Regions from separate parts of the Homo sapiens genome. Here all the other regions are linked to region 1. The links are contacts of gene promoters, found by promoter capture Hi-C in blood cells and fetal thymus (Javierre and others, 2016). All regions are on one chromosome and are shown on one strand. Each heading gives the region's core, a stretch centred on a gene start or on the middle of the fragment in contact. The rest is flanking DNA. Distances are from core to core; before and after follow the strand shown.

Region 1 (4,125 bases), core at 1-2,500:
CTCTCTCACATGTGTGCATATTTGGGGTACAAGCTCCTGCACTGGTCTCAAATGGGAACAAGGGTCACAGACAGGTCTCGGGCTTTCTGGATACACCCAGGTGGGAGGGTTCTCCTTGCACCTAGATATAACCCCATCCCCTTCCCCATATAAAGCTTGGGAAAAAGCTGGAGGGAGGCCATGGTGGGTGGGGTGGGCTGGGAGTGGGGGTGGCTGGAGACAGCCCAGTCTGCCACCAGTTTTTGTACAGCCTGTAAGCCTTTACATATTTACATAGTTGAAACAACTGCTGCCCCCCCTGCAAAAAAGCCACCAATATTTTGGGACAAGTAAATATTACATGATATTCAAATTCAGTGTCCATAAACACAGTTTTGTTGGAATCCATCCTCTTCTGCTGGTCTCCTAATAACCTGTGACTGCTTCTTGCTAGTTGGGACAGACGGTGTAGGCCGCGAAGTCTCTAATCTTTACTGTCTGGCCTTTACTGAAAGGCTTGCCCATCTCCTACCTGAACCCTCCTGACCACAGACAGGGAGGTGAGTGGGGCCAGCTGTCCGGCCACTGCCCTTAGAGACCAGCCAAATAGAATTAGAGTTTCTCCAGTTTCGGGCTATATATTTGGTCCTCCCCAGACTCTGGGAATACCACCATGGAGCTGGGGGCCAGGCGTGGGGCTCCATCCCTCCCCCCTAAACCTGGAGGGAGGGCCCGCCCTCGAGTGGGCAGGGCCTGGAAGAGGAGAGGCCTCCTAAGGGGCGGTGGGCTCAAGAAGGCTGCGCAGGTGTTTGTGCCCCGACCGGGTGGGCCTGAGGTCCTGCCTCAGCCCTCCCTTACCTTCCTCCGATTCAGGAGCAGAGGAGGAAACGTTCGCTGTCCCTCCTGCCGCCTCCCAATAGTCCTCCCTCTGAGGGCGCTGTCTCCCTCGCACTGCTCCCTACCCAGGGTCCTGTCTCAGCCCAGCCCCCGGCTCCCCTCCTCCCGCCTTCGGGAGGCCAGGCCTTCCTTCCCCTTCGCCCCGGCTTCCAGGCCCCGGGTCCCGGCCGCCCCGCCCCCGGGCCGCGTAGCCCTCCCGCCGCTCACCTGTGCCCACAGGTGTCACCGCACCCGCTGCCCTGCGCCGCCCTCCCCGCCCGCGGGGCTCCCCGTCGCCGTCGGCTCCCCGGCGATGCCAGCCAGCCCCGATGCCCAGCCTGGGACTGGGATCGAGCGGCCCGCGGGAGCCGGGCAGCGCGGGTCCGGGCGAGGAGGGCGGGGACCGGGCTGGCCCCTCCCTACCGCCAGCACCGCTCGGGGCAGAGGGGCAGAGGGGCGGGGCCCTGGGGACCGAGCAGCCCCCGCCCTCACGCAGCCACCGCCTTCCCCGGAGAGGACAGCTCACGTGGCGGTGCCCTCCTTTCCCCTTTTCGGTCGCACCTGAACTCGACACCCGCCGGCCGAGCGGGAGGGCTGGGACCGCGCGCCCTCCACTCCGGGCCAGACCCCCGCGAGGCGCTGCAGTAATGAGGGCTGAGTAAGGGGCGGGGCGCCGCCGGGGGAGGCGGCGAGGGTGACAACCTGTGGCAGGCACCCCTCTCTCCTGCTGGTCGCGGCGAGTGGCCGGCCGTCCGGTCCTCCCCCTGCCTCGGCCTAGACCCCTAAGCAGGCAGGGAGCCCGCCTGCCAGCTGGAGGGGCAGGGGGCCCCGTCGCTGTGTGGAGTCCAAAGTGTGAGCCTTATCTCTCAGAGGACCGGCTGGCCTGCCTGGTGGAAGGTGATACTGGAAGGCTATCCTGGACTTTGCCTTTGCTCCAGGGATAGGCAGCTGAGGCCTGACCCGCACTTCTCCTATGACCTAAGACTCAGGTGGGGGCACCCTCCCAGTTCACCTGCAAATAAGCCCACTCCCGGCTACACCAGGGTCACCCAGCCCTTGCGGTGGCTGCTAAAATAGATGCTGTGGGGCCAGGCGCGATGGCTCACGCCTGTAATCCCAACACTTTGGGAGGCCGAGGCGGGCGGATCACAAGGTCGGGAGATGGAGACCAGCCTGGCCAATATGGTGAAACCCCGACTCTACTAAAAATACAAAAATTAGCTGGGCATGGTGACGGGCGCCTGTAGTCCCAGCTACTTGGGAGGCTGAGGCGGGAGAATCGCTTGAACCTGGGAGGTGGAGGTTGCAGTGAGCCAAGACAGCACTACTGCACTCCAGCCTGGGCAACAGAGTGAAACTCCATCTCAAAAAAAAAAAAAAAAAAAAAGAAAGAAAAAGAAAAAGATGCTGTGGAAGGACTGACACATGCTGGGCATTGCATGAAAGGACCATACTTTATTTTCTTTATTTTTAAAATTTATTTTTTAAAAAGAAAATAGAGACAATATCTTGCTGTGTGGCCCAGGATGGACTCCAACTCCTGGGTTCAAGCGATCCTCCTGCTTCGGTTTCCCCACCTTTTCACTTCTCCAAATCATGGCACCTCGTCTGACAGAAGCACTGGATATTTGAGATAGAAGTGTCCTGTGGATGTGTGGTCATTATAATCTCACAACCATGAAACCCAAGACCCTGTAGTTGGCAGGTGGCAGGTCTGAGGCTCCCAGCCCCTCACCCTGACTGTGGTCTATTTCCTGCCAATGAACTCAACAGTGATTGATACGGCTCCTTACTTCTTCAGAGCATCCTGAAGTTCAGGAAACACTTTCAGAAGCAGAATCTCCTTGAGTTGCCAGGGGAAAAGGCCTCTATTCCCTTTTCCCATCTAGGCTATGAAACGCATACATGATCAGAGTGTTCTAGTCCTCACTCGGACTCTGGTGACTCTATTTTGTTTGGAGGAGGAATCTATATCTTTGGGCAGTTTCTAATTTTGTATTCCCTGTGTCCATCCTCAAATCTGCCCTCTGGGATTCTCTTTCTCTGAGCTTGCTGTTGTGTGATTGCTCTGCTGGTTCAGAAGTGTCCTCTGTTCCTCCAGCTCCTTGAACCAGCCTGTCTCCTGCTCCTGGCCCAGCTGGTGGTGGGACTAGTTTTCGGGGGTGAAGTCAGGTGGGAAAGGAACTGCAGTGGCAAGAAACCAGAGTGTGCCTAGTTCCTAGCCCTTCCCTCTTCCCATTCACTGTGTGTGTGTGTGTGTGTGTGTGTGTGTGTGTGTGTGTGTGTGTGTGTGTGTGTGGTGAGAGCTAGACAGAGATAGAGAGATGTCCAGGGATGACAAGAGTAGCCATGAGGGAAAGAGTTAATAAGCCAGGAGAGGAGGTGGTGATTACGGACAGTATTAAATGACACCCCAGAGACAGCTGGTGCCAATGGCCCCTAGCTTCTCCTCCCAGTGTCTCCCAGAAGGAGTGGGAAGGAGGAATAAGAGGGAAGATGAAATTGAGAGAGCACCAAAGACAAGCCTGGGCTTACAGTGCTCTGGGGTGAGCTGGCTAGAGGGGCCCAGTGGCAGGTGGTGGTGGGTGGCGGGGTGGTTAACCCTTTCACTTCCCTCTAGGCGTTGAGGTCCAGTCTCCACCCACTACTGCCCCAGGGCCTGTCTTCAGCCTCCCTGGGAGGAGAGGTTCCCAGGGCAAGCTGGAGTCTAGAAGCCAGAGGTGTGGCCGGGCACAGGTGTGTGGCCTAGGAGGCAGGCCTCCATGTTCTGTTTCTTCTCTTCTGTCACTCTCACAGTCTCCACTTCCATGACTCCTCTGTGCTGCGGAGAGCACACTCCTATGGCAGGCTGAGGGGAGCATTCTCAGGGAGCTGAATGAAATGTAAAGAATTGGGAGGCTGGAGGCTTGGCCTCTGCCAAGTGAGGCTAGGGGCCATCTGGTCCTTGGACCAGAGTATGCCATCTGGATACTTCTCTTTATTCCTGGTTATCCTAGCCTTTCCTCACATGTCTAGCTTGAGTCATATGCCTCACTTTCTCCCAGGTAAGATGCTCCTCATTAGGCCCCTGGATTGACCCCATAACTGATGGTAAAGTGTGTGTCCACGGTCAGAGCTCTGAGGATCAAATGCTTCTGTCCAATAGCAGCCTGAGGATAACTGCCTGGGGTTGGCATAAGGGGCTCACCAGGCAGGAAGGTCAGGGAAACTCATTTGTGCCTCGACCTCTGCTGAGCCCATATCTCTCAGGGCAGAAGTGGGGACCATCTG
Region 2 (4,550 bases), core at 492-2,991, 790 kb before region 1:
CTCGTCAACGTCATAATGAAACGACGATGTTATTCATGGACCTGCTGCACTGGCCTTCGCCCCCTCTATCAAGTGTGCCGCGGGGCCTCAAGTCCAGGGTTTCTTGTTAAGCTCATGCCTTCTGCCAGGGTGGGCCAGAGGGAGTTGCCTGGGTGCACAGAGATTCTAGGATTCTGCAGTCTCCCTCACAGGCTTCTGGTCTGCCATCCCCGTGCCAGCCCTTCCCTCATCCCTATCTTGATTCCCCCAATTTTTAAAACTTCCCCTGGTTCTGTGATGAGAACCTGCTTGCTTTATGTTGGCTCCCATCATTGCAAACTCAAGTTATCACTTGCATCTCCACTCCATCTTCCAAAGTGTGTTGACACCTGTCATCTGCTGTCATCTTCTCTCCCTTTTTTGTCCTTGGTTATGTGTACCATTTTATCCCTTTGCTGTCATACGACTGGGGTTGAGATGGGAGAGGAAATATATGCATGCATTTATTGCTTCAGACTTAACCAGTCAGGATGATACTTTGTTCAATTCAGCCTATGTCTGTTGAGCACCTACCATGAGTCCCGTTCCTCTTAAATCATGGAGATTTTTAATCCTGGCCTTTTTTCTTGTCATTGAGAAACTTCAAGTTCAGAAAAAGGATTCCTCCCAGAGTAAGTCACACACACACACCCCTCAAAGGCAGAATTCAGCACACTATAACCTAGTTTATTTTTTTACTTGTCAGCGTCCTCAGCCACTGCTCCTCGGGAGCAGAACTGTGCCTTTGTCACATCTGTGTCCCCAGCACCTAGCACAGTATCTTACACATAGTACACAACCAGTAAATGTGTTAAAGGAATAAGTGAGAGAGTGAATAAAATGCAAGCTTATGTGTGTGCAGGACACACAACATAATGAATTTTGAAGGAGCAGGTATTGAGTATCCATCCTCACCACTGCTCTTAGTGCAGACTCTGGAAGATGCCATAGAACATGCTGGAAGAGGCCACACAGACCATTATATAGGAGAGGAAACTGAGATCTTGGGTGCTTCAGAAACTCCCCATTTCACACATGGAATTAGTAGCAAAGTCTAGAATTTAAGGGTCTTAGGACTCAGTCCTGTGTCCACTCTACTTTCCTAGTTAGAATCCTAAGCAATTGTATTTCGCTAACAATTCAGGGAAAAGGGCAAAAAGAAAGCTGGAGGGTTTTACAACCAAGTAGAGCAGTTGAGCACCATTTCCTACATCAAATTGCTTCTTCCCCAAAAAGCAGGCCTCTTAAATGCCAGGAGTTACATTTGCTGATATTCTAAGCAAAAGACCAGTATTGGGATTTGTCTGAACCAGGTATTTGGGGCGATTGAGAAATTTTCTTCATCGCAAATTTTACCCAGTTACTCTGATCATAATGACATGGTCTGGATGAAGTCTTGAATGAATTTGGGACTTGTGGAGAATGAGGGAATGGAGAGCTAGCAAAAACCTAGGATATATGGATCAGTATGAAAACCAGAAATAAAATGAGCTAAGCAGTGAGCTGTGTGCCTGGAACAGAGATGAAGCAGGAAGCATGGCCCCTTCCTTGAGTTAAGGAACCCACAGGAAGGTATTTGAGCAGAGGCGAGACAGTCAAAAGGGCATTGAAACAGAGACAAGCTGCCCGATGAAGCAACACCATCCAGTGCAGCTGGACTGTGGACACCTGTGTCCTTAGGTTTTCATACATTGTGAGAGCTTCGTTTACAAAGTGCATGGGATAAGAGGAGGGGCACCCCAAAAGAAGGAAAGCAGGAAAAGGCAGGGACCCCAGAGGCTCAGTCTCTGCAGAGGGTATTACTGCCTCACAGATGTTGGCCAAAGAAAGTTACTCACAGAAGTGGAAGGTGATGGGATGGGCTTTGGGGATGGAGGAGAAGCTGGATGGGAGGGGCTTATGCCCATGTTCATTGAGTCAACGCTGTGGTGCTGTAGGTACCACGCTGAGCACCAGGAACTCAGTGGAGAAAAAGACAGAAGTAGTCCTTGCCTTCTTAGAATGCATAATCCAGTGACTCCCATGGGAACCCTGGTGTTCCCAAGGAACTTCTTAAAAGAAGGAAAATATAGTGGGTTACGTGAAATAATTATGGTAGGCTAAAGAAACATTGTAGTATGTGGTTATGTCTGGAAGAAACTCAGGCGTCAATAATGGAACCAGAAGCTAGTTGAGGAAGCCTCTGTGAGGTGCCTTCTGAGCCCCAGAGGGGCACGGCCCGTCTAGATGGGGCAGGAGTCACACCGAGGATGTGCCCCTGTGATGCCAGCAGCGCGGATTCACCCCACACCTATCTGCAGCCTCACTCCTCCTCCCGCTTTCAGATCTCATTCGTCGGTTCGGATCCAAGCCAGTTCTGTGGTCAGCAAGGCTCCCCTCTGGGCAGGCCCCCTGGTCAGAGGGAGTTTGTATCCTCAGGGAGGAGTTTGCGGCTGACCTTCCGCACACAGCCTTCCTCGGAGAACAAGACTGCCCACCTCCACAAGGGCTTCCTGGCCCTCTACCAAACCGTGGGTGAGTGTCCCTCCTGGGGGTGCAGGGAGGGAGCCTCTGTTCCCAGCCATGACCCTGGTATCTTCAAGCCTTAAGTGGAAGCTTGAGTGACAGCTGAGGCTGGGGACTCAGGGACACCTGGGCTGGATCCCAGCCCTGCCCCTGCTGGCAAGCAACCCTATTAAGAGACAGCCGTAGCTGAGCCCCCAGCGGTTGTTTCCATGCAGATTTACAGGCCCAGTGTTTGCAGATCATCTCATTTTTAAAGAGATGCCAAAAATCCAGATTTTTAAGTAAAATTATAAATTTTCAAATGATGACTCAGATTTGTTTTTGAAAGATAAATACTGGCTGGAGGCAGTGGTTCATGCCTGTAATCCCAGCACTTTGGAAGGCCAAGGCTGGAAGATTGCTTGAGGCCAGTAGTTGGAGACCAGCCTGGGCAACATAGTGAGACCCCGTTTCCACAAAAAAAATTAAAAATTAGCCAGGCATGGTGGTGCACACCTGTAGTACCAGCTACTCAGGGACTGAGGGGGAGGATTGCTTGAGCCAGGGAGTTTGAGGCTGCAGTCAGCCACAATCATGCCACCGCACTCCAGCCTGGGAGACACGGAGAAACTAGAAGAGAGAAAGAGAGGAAGAGAGGAAGGAAGGAAGGAGGAAAAGGGAGAGGGAAGGGAAGGGAGGGAAGAAAGCGAGAAAGGAGAAAGAGGGAAAGAAAGAAGGGAGGGAGGGAGAGAGGGAAAGTAAGAAGGGAAGGAAGGAAGGAGGGAGGGAGGGAGGGAAGAAGGAGGGAGGGAGGGAGGGAAGGAAGGAGGGAAGGAGGGAAGGAAGGAAGGAAAGGAAGGAAGGGTGCACATGATAAAATATCATTTTTTTAAGTATGCTAAAAAGTAAGTCTTCCTCTGATCTCTGGCTCTTAACTCCTGGCTGCCCTCCCCAGAAACAACTGTGTTCTCCATTTCCTGGATATTCTTCCCGGGAAGAGGATAAATTGTGTGTGTCTATATTGCAAGTGTTCTAAACGTGGTATTTTTCTACTGAATAATATATCTTAAAGATCATCCCATTCCATATGGACAGCACTAACTCATTTATTTTTTATTTTTTATTTTATTTATTGTTTTTTGAGACAGAGTCTCGCTCTATTGCCCAGGCTGGAGTGCAGTGGCGCAGTCTCTTCTCATTGCAACCTCTGCCTCCTGGGTTCAAGCGATTCTCCTGCCTCAGCCTCCTGAGTAGCTGGGATTATAGGTATGCCACCACACCCAGCTAATTTTTGCATTTTTAATAATGGTTTCACCTTGTTGGCCAGGCTGGTCTCAAACTCCTGACCTCAGGTGATCTGCCTGCCTCAGGCTCCCAAAGTGCTAGGATTACAGCCGTGAGCCACCGCACCTGGCGAACTCATTATTTTTAATGACCACATAAAATCTCCTTGATTGATGTGTCATAATGTATTTCATCAGCCCTCCTGATAGATACTTTGCTGCCACACATGGTGCTACTGTGCATATCCTTGCATTTACATCTTTGAGCACATGTGTGAGAATATCTTTAGACTAAATTTTTAGAAATGGAGTAGGTTAAAAAATATTTGCATTTTAAATTTTGATATTGCTAAAATTTTCTCCAAAACGGTTTTGCTAATTTACATACCTATCAAACATATATGGAAGTGCCTGTTCCCCCCTACCCTGCTTGTCACAGTTATCTTCAAACTCTTTGAGTGTTGTCAATCTGATCAGTGAAAACGAACTCAAATGTTTTAAAAAAACTAAAAATAAAAAATAAAACACTGTGCAAGTCAAACCAAGTATAGCCATGGGCCAGAATCAGCCCCTGGGTTGCCAGTTGGCAAGTCTGTGCTAGGTGCTGTTTTCCTATAGCTGTGAACTATAGTCAGCCCATCAGCGAGGCCAGCAGGGGCTCTGAGGCCATCAACGCACCTGGAGACAACCCTGCCAAGGTCCAGAACCACTGCCAGGAGCCCTATTATCAGGCCGCGGCAGCAGGTGAGTCCCCACCTGCCGAGG
Region 3 (4,705 bases), core at 685-3,184, 840 kb before region 1:
ATTATGCAACAATTCATTTCCACCCACGTGTTTTCCACTTGCTCTCCTTCTTAAAGGTAAGTTGTTCAGTCAAACAAACACAGGATGGAGTCGCTTTCTGCTTCCAGCCCCAGGAGTTCTCCCACACTCTGACTCCAGACACTGGCTGGTTCTCTGGATGGTGTTACTCCCCGAAGTCGTCCTTACCTGTGCCCTGCCAACTCTCATCCTTTTTGGCCTCCACCTGGTGAGAAATGGAGCAGGTGATTTGAAGATCAGGGAACAAAGGGACGCCGTTGGTTCCCTCAAAGTCCACAGCTGGGCGGGCAAAATGAGCAGTGCCACTCAGCAGGATCTGGGGGGCGTCAGGCTGAAGGACGACCACGTAGCCCTCCACTTCAGGGATGGAGACGCAGGACTCTTCGCTGAAGCACCTATGTAAGAAAGCAGGAGAAGCAGCATGTGACCCCAACACTTCCTCCCCGAAAACCCACATTCTGTTTCACTCCCCGCCCCAGCTACCTCTATCATAGAGCATCTCATGTCAGGAAGGGGCAGGGGAAGAAAGGGGGTCATGCCTCTGCATCCCAACCCCCACAGCAGTTGAAGGGGGACATATCCTTTCCTGGTAGGATGTCACCAAGGAAAATGTCGAGGACAGAAGGTCAGGTAATCCCAACCTGTGGGTGTGATCACACCATCAATGCCCTACCCCAGGATTATGGAGTACCTATAGATGCTATTTTAATGAAAAACAAAGCAAACTGAACTGACAAACAGGTATATATACACACACAGTTCTTTATCCAGCAGTTTAAAAGTACATGGACTCAGTATACTATCCGGCACATATGCGCCCAAAATTATTCAACAATAAAAGTAGAATGTGGACATCTATCAAAGGATGTCCTCCTCTTTGGTGTGTCTTTCATTCCCTTCAATATCGGGGAAACACACTTTGGTAGGTGAGATCATCTGACCACCTTGGACCTAGATCCACCGTCTCATGAAGCTTGAGGATCCAGGCATCAGGACAAGCTATCCTTAGAGGACTCTGTTGAGCCAGACCAACCAACAGCACAGCTGCTCAGCAGTGATGCTCCCAGGATCACATTTAGCCCCACCTTTACCAGTAATAACAACACCTCACAATCAATAGCCCTTGCCAGTTTATGAAGCATTTTCCCACATTTCTTTCTTTCTTTCTTTCTTTCTTTCTTTCTTTCTTTCTTTCTTTCTTTCTTTCTTTTTGATGGAGTTTCACTCTTGTTGCCCAGGCTAGGGTGCAATGGTGCGATCTTGGCTCACTGCAACCTCTGCCTCCTGGGTTCAAGCGATTCCTCTGTCTCAGCCTCCCAAGTAGCTGGGATTATAGGGCGCATGCCACCACACCCGGCTAATTTTTGTATTTTTAGTAGAGATGAGATTTCTTCATATTGGCCAGGCTGGTCTTGAACTCCTGACTTCAGGTGATCTGTCCGTCTCGGCCTCCCAAAGTGCTGGGATTACAGGCGTGAGCCACCGCACCTGGCCCATATTATTTCATTATATTATAACCTCATTTCTATGCTGTAAAATGCCTAAAGCTCAGGCTGGGCATGATGGCTCATGCCTGTAAATCCTGGCACTTTGGGAGGCTGAGGCGGGAGGATCCCTTGAGCTTAGGAGTTCGAGATCAGCCTGGGCAACATAGTGAAACCCCGTCTCTACAAAAAATACAAAAATTATCCAGGTGTGGTGGTAGATGCTTGTAGTCCCAGCTACTCAGGAGGCTGAGGTGGAAGGAACACTTGAGCCCAGGAGGCAGAGGTTGCAGTGAGCTGATGAGATCAGGCCACTGCACTCCAGCCTGGGCGACAGAGTGAGACCCTATCTCAAAAAAAAAAAGAAGAAAAGAAAAGAAAGAAAAAGAAAAAGAAACAATCAAGGCTTAAACCAGAGTCTAGGCTTAAATCATTCTTCTCCTTCCAGGTCCACTGATTTTTTTTTTTTTTTTTTTTTTTTTTTTTGGCAGAGTCTCTCTCTGTTGCCCAGGCTGCAGTGCAGTAGTGCCATCTCAGCTCACTGCAACCTCTGCCTCCCAGGTTCAAGCAATCTCGTGCCTCAGCCTCCTGAGGAGCTGGGACCACAGGTGTGCGCCACCACACACCGCCCAAGTCCACTGATCTTTCCACTAAACCACAGGCACCATTTGGGGCCTGGGTTTGCACCAGGGAAATGTATCTGTAAAGAAGTTTCCCCACTTGAACAAGCAGACTTCACGGTGGAGTTAGTGATCCAGGAGCATGGACTCTGATCCCCACGCTGGTGCTAGCGGAAATGATTTTACAGAGAGGACTGTAATTATTAGTGTTACTGAGCATGCCCAGCTTGAATGCTGGAGTAAAAAGGGAGAAGGCATCATCTCAGTAGGCATGATGAGCTCAGAGCCCCTGAAGTTGCCAATGCCCGGGATGTGCTGAGTTCCTGTACCACACGGAGCAGGGCCTATTACAGTCTGCCATCCAGATAGGCCTAGGGCAAAGCCCCTTGGGAAACAATCCCAGATGACCCTGAAGGCACAGGCTCCAACAGACATCCTCCCTGCAATGAGCAATGCTGTGCTGTGCCGCTGGTCTGGGAATCCCAAGGGGAATAGGAGGCCTGACCCAAAGGCACCGTTGGTCTGGTAGAGAGATTAGACGTGGCACACAAAAGTTAAAAGAAAGGCAAATATGGTCATCGCCATATGAGTGGAACAAACAACCAGAAGAGTTCAGAGGAGGGAGAGGTTAGTTCTGCCTAGGATAAGAGGAGGGTGCTTGGAAAAGGAAGGTAGGAACGATCAGAGAAAGTAGCAACTGAGCTAGCCTTTGAAGGAGGGTAGTACTGACCCAGAGTGGATGGCGAGAAGCTTACTAAGGGGAGTAGAGGAACATGAGGCAGGAACCACCAGAAGCCAGATGGCTGGCAGCTTTAAATGCCATGATAAGATCTGTTTTTTTTTTCTCTCTCTCTAATTTTTTAGAGACAGGGTCTCGCTTTGTCGCCCAGGCTGGAATGCAGTGGTGCAATCATGACTCACTGCAGCCTCGAACTCCTGGGCTCAAGTGATTCTCCCACCTCAGCCTCCTGAGTAGCTGGGACTACAGACTTGCGGTCTGTTGGTTGTGCAGGCTGGTCTCGAACTTCTGGCCTTAAGTGATCCTCCCACCTTGGCCTCCCAAAGTGCTGGGATTACAGGTGTGAGCCACGGCACCCAGCACATTTGACATTTTTATGCAGTGGGCAAGAGGAAGCCACCGACGTCTTTTTCATCAGGGAAGTGTGATGATGAAAACTCAACTTAAGATCACTCACCTAGCCTCAGAGTAGAGGATAAATAAAATTCGAAGACTAGAGATAGGTCAGCTAGTTAGGAGGCAATGGGCCAGATAAGAGGTAATAAGACCTGGGCTAGAACAGTAACAGCAGCAAAAGAAAGAGGAGACAGATTTCAGACACGCGGCACAGAGGCAGGGTCCAGGTGAGCTGGCAACTGATGGGCAGTGGAGGATAAAGACAGGGAAGAATCAAAGATGACTCAGAGGTTTCAAGCTCTGGATGACTGCAAGGACAGAGGCACCATTACAGAGAGAGTTCAGGGAGAGAGGCTGGTTTGGGATTGCAGTTGATTATTTCAGCATTAGCTCTTTCGGTTGAGGTGCTAGCAGAACTTCTAGATAGAGGTTACAGGAAGCAGATGGAAAGTCAAGAGCTGTGGAAAGAGGACAAAACTAGAGAAATAGATGTGGTATCTATCTGTTCAGGGGTCAATTCCACAAGTAAATGGGCTTTCCAAGAAAAATACTAAAAAAAAAAAAAACTTCAGGAAAACTTGCATTTAGGCATTGACCAAATAGTTGCATAAATCTGGCTTTAAATAGACAGAGGTCCAAGAACTGAAAACTGGAAGCTATGAAAGCCACAGGGACAGGGGCAAGGAAATGCATCAGGGAAAGGGAGGTATTGCTAGGTACCTGTCTGTGTCTGTTACATACACACAAATGCGCGCGCACACACACACACACACACACACACCCCTCTATATTTTCTCCCGTGACCTCAGGGAAGTATTAGGATAGCACCAACCATGTAGTAACCTTAGAAATGGAGAAATGAAAACTCTGTTTCTTAACCTCATAGAGAAAACATCAAGGCCCCTTTCCTCAAAGGCAGGTTCCAAGCCCTTGGATAAACCTCTATCCTGGGCATGAAAAAGATAGCAGGAATTCAGATGAGGCAGTCAGCAAAGAGAATGTCAACTCCTCCCCCCGCAGGAACTCCCCTTGCAGAGCTCCACCCTAGGCCAAAAACCAGAGCCCTCCCTTCTGCCATGGCTCCTCAGCACTGGAGGGGACGAGGCAATGCCTTGGCTTCTGAGGGATCAAGCCTTTCATAACTGGATGACAGCCCTTTAACAACTGGAGCTCTGACTGGGACATGGCGGGGTGCATACTCAGCAATCAGCTGCACCCACATTAACTCAACTGCCTGTGACCTTCAGCTCCACACCCTGAACCAGCAAATTCCCAAAAGCCACAGCCCGGGGCCTTCCACAGCTCTAACTGTGAGGCCTGATAATCACGCCCAGTCACCCTCTAGGGCTCAGAGCCCTCTCCCCTCTAAACCCACCCCTCCCAGGATAGGGGCAAATTTGAGATGTTTATCTTCATATAGCTCACAGAGAAACTGAGGCAGAATCGGG

What was found. The method cuts DNA at HindIII sites, captures the fragments that hold promoters and counts their contacts. A CHiCAGO score of 5 or more calls a contact.
Region 2: a fragment that was not itself captured here is called in contact with the fragment with the promoter of PLEKHG6 in region 1 in 1 of 17 cell types (activated CD4 T cells); the score reaches 6.1 in activated CD4 T cells.
Region 3: a contact is called between a fragment that was not itself captured here and the fragment with the promoter of PLEKHG6 in region 1, in 1 of 17 cell types (activated CD4 T cells). The highest score is 5.5, in activated CD4 T cells.

The regions. Positions count from the first base shown.
Region 1 is chr12:6,307,807-6,311,931 of GRCh38, reverse strand. It overlaps PLEKHG6 (pleckstrin homology and RhoGEF domain containing G6), which reads right to left and starts at 1,250. Exons shown (of 16, transcript NM_001384598.1): 1 at 1,084-1,250. RefSeq lists a silencer at 1,304-1,353 and an enhancer at 1,716-2,436. The HindIII fragment of the contact is 5,964 bases long and covers 158-4,125 here.
Region 2 is chr12:7,099,880-7,104,429 of GRCh38, reverse strand. It overlaps C1RL (complement C1r subcomponent like), which reads left to right. Exons shown (of 6, transcript NM_016546.4): 3 at 2,343-2,532; 4 at 4,404-4,529. Among named protein-coding and RNA genes, the nearest start is that of C1RL-AS1, 6.2 kb to the left of the region's middle. The HindIII fragment of the contact is 1,748 bases long and covers 868-2,615 here.
Region 3 is chr12:7,144,680-7,149,384 of GRCh38, reverse strand. CLSTN3 (calsyntenin 3) reads right to left here. Exons shown (of 18, transcript NM_014718.4): 13 at 187-413. Among named protein-coding and RNA genes, the nearest start is that of CLSTN3, 17 kb to the right of the region's middle. The HindIII fragment of the contact is 1,881 bases long and covers 994-2,874 here.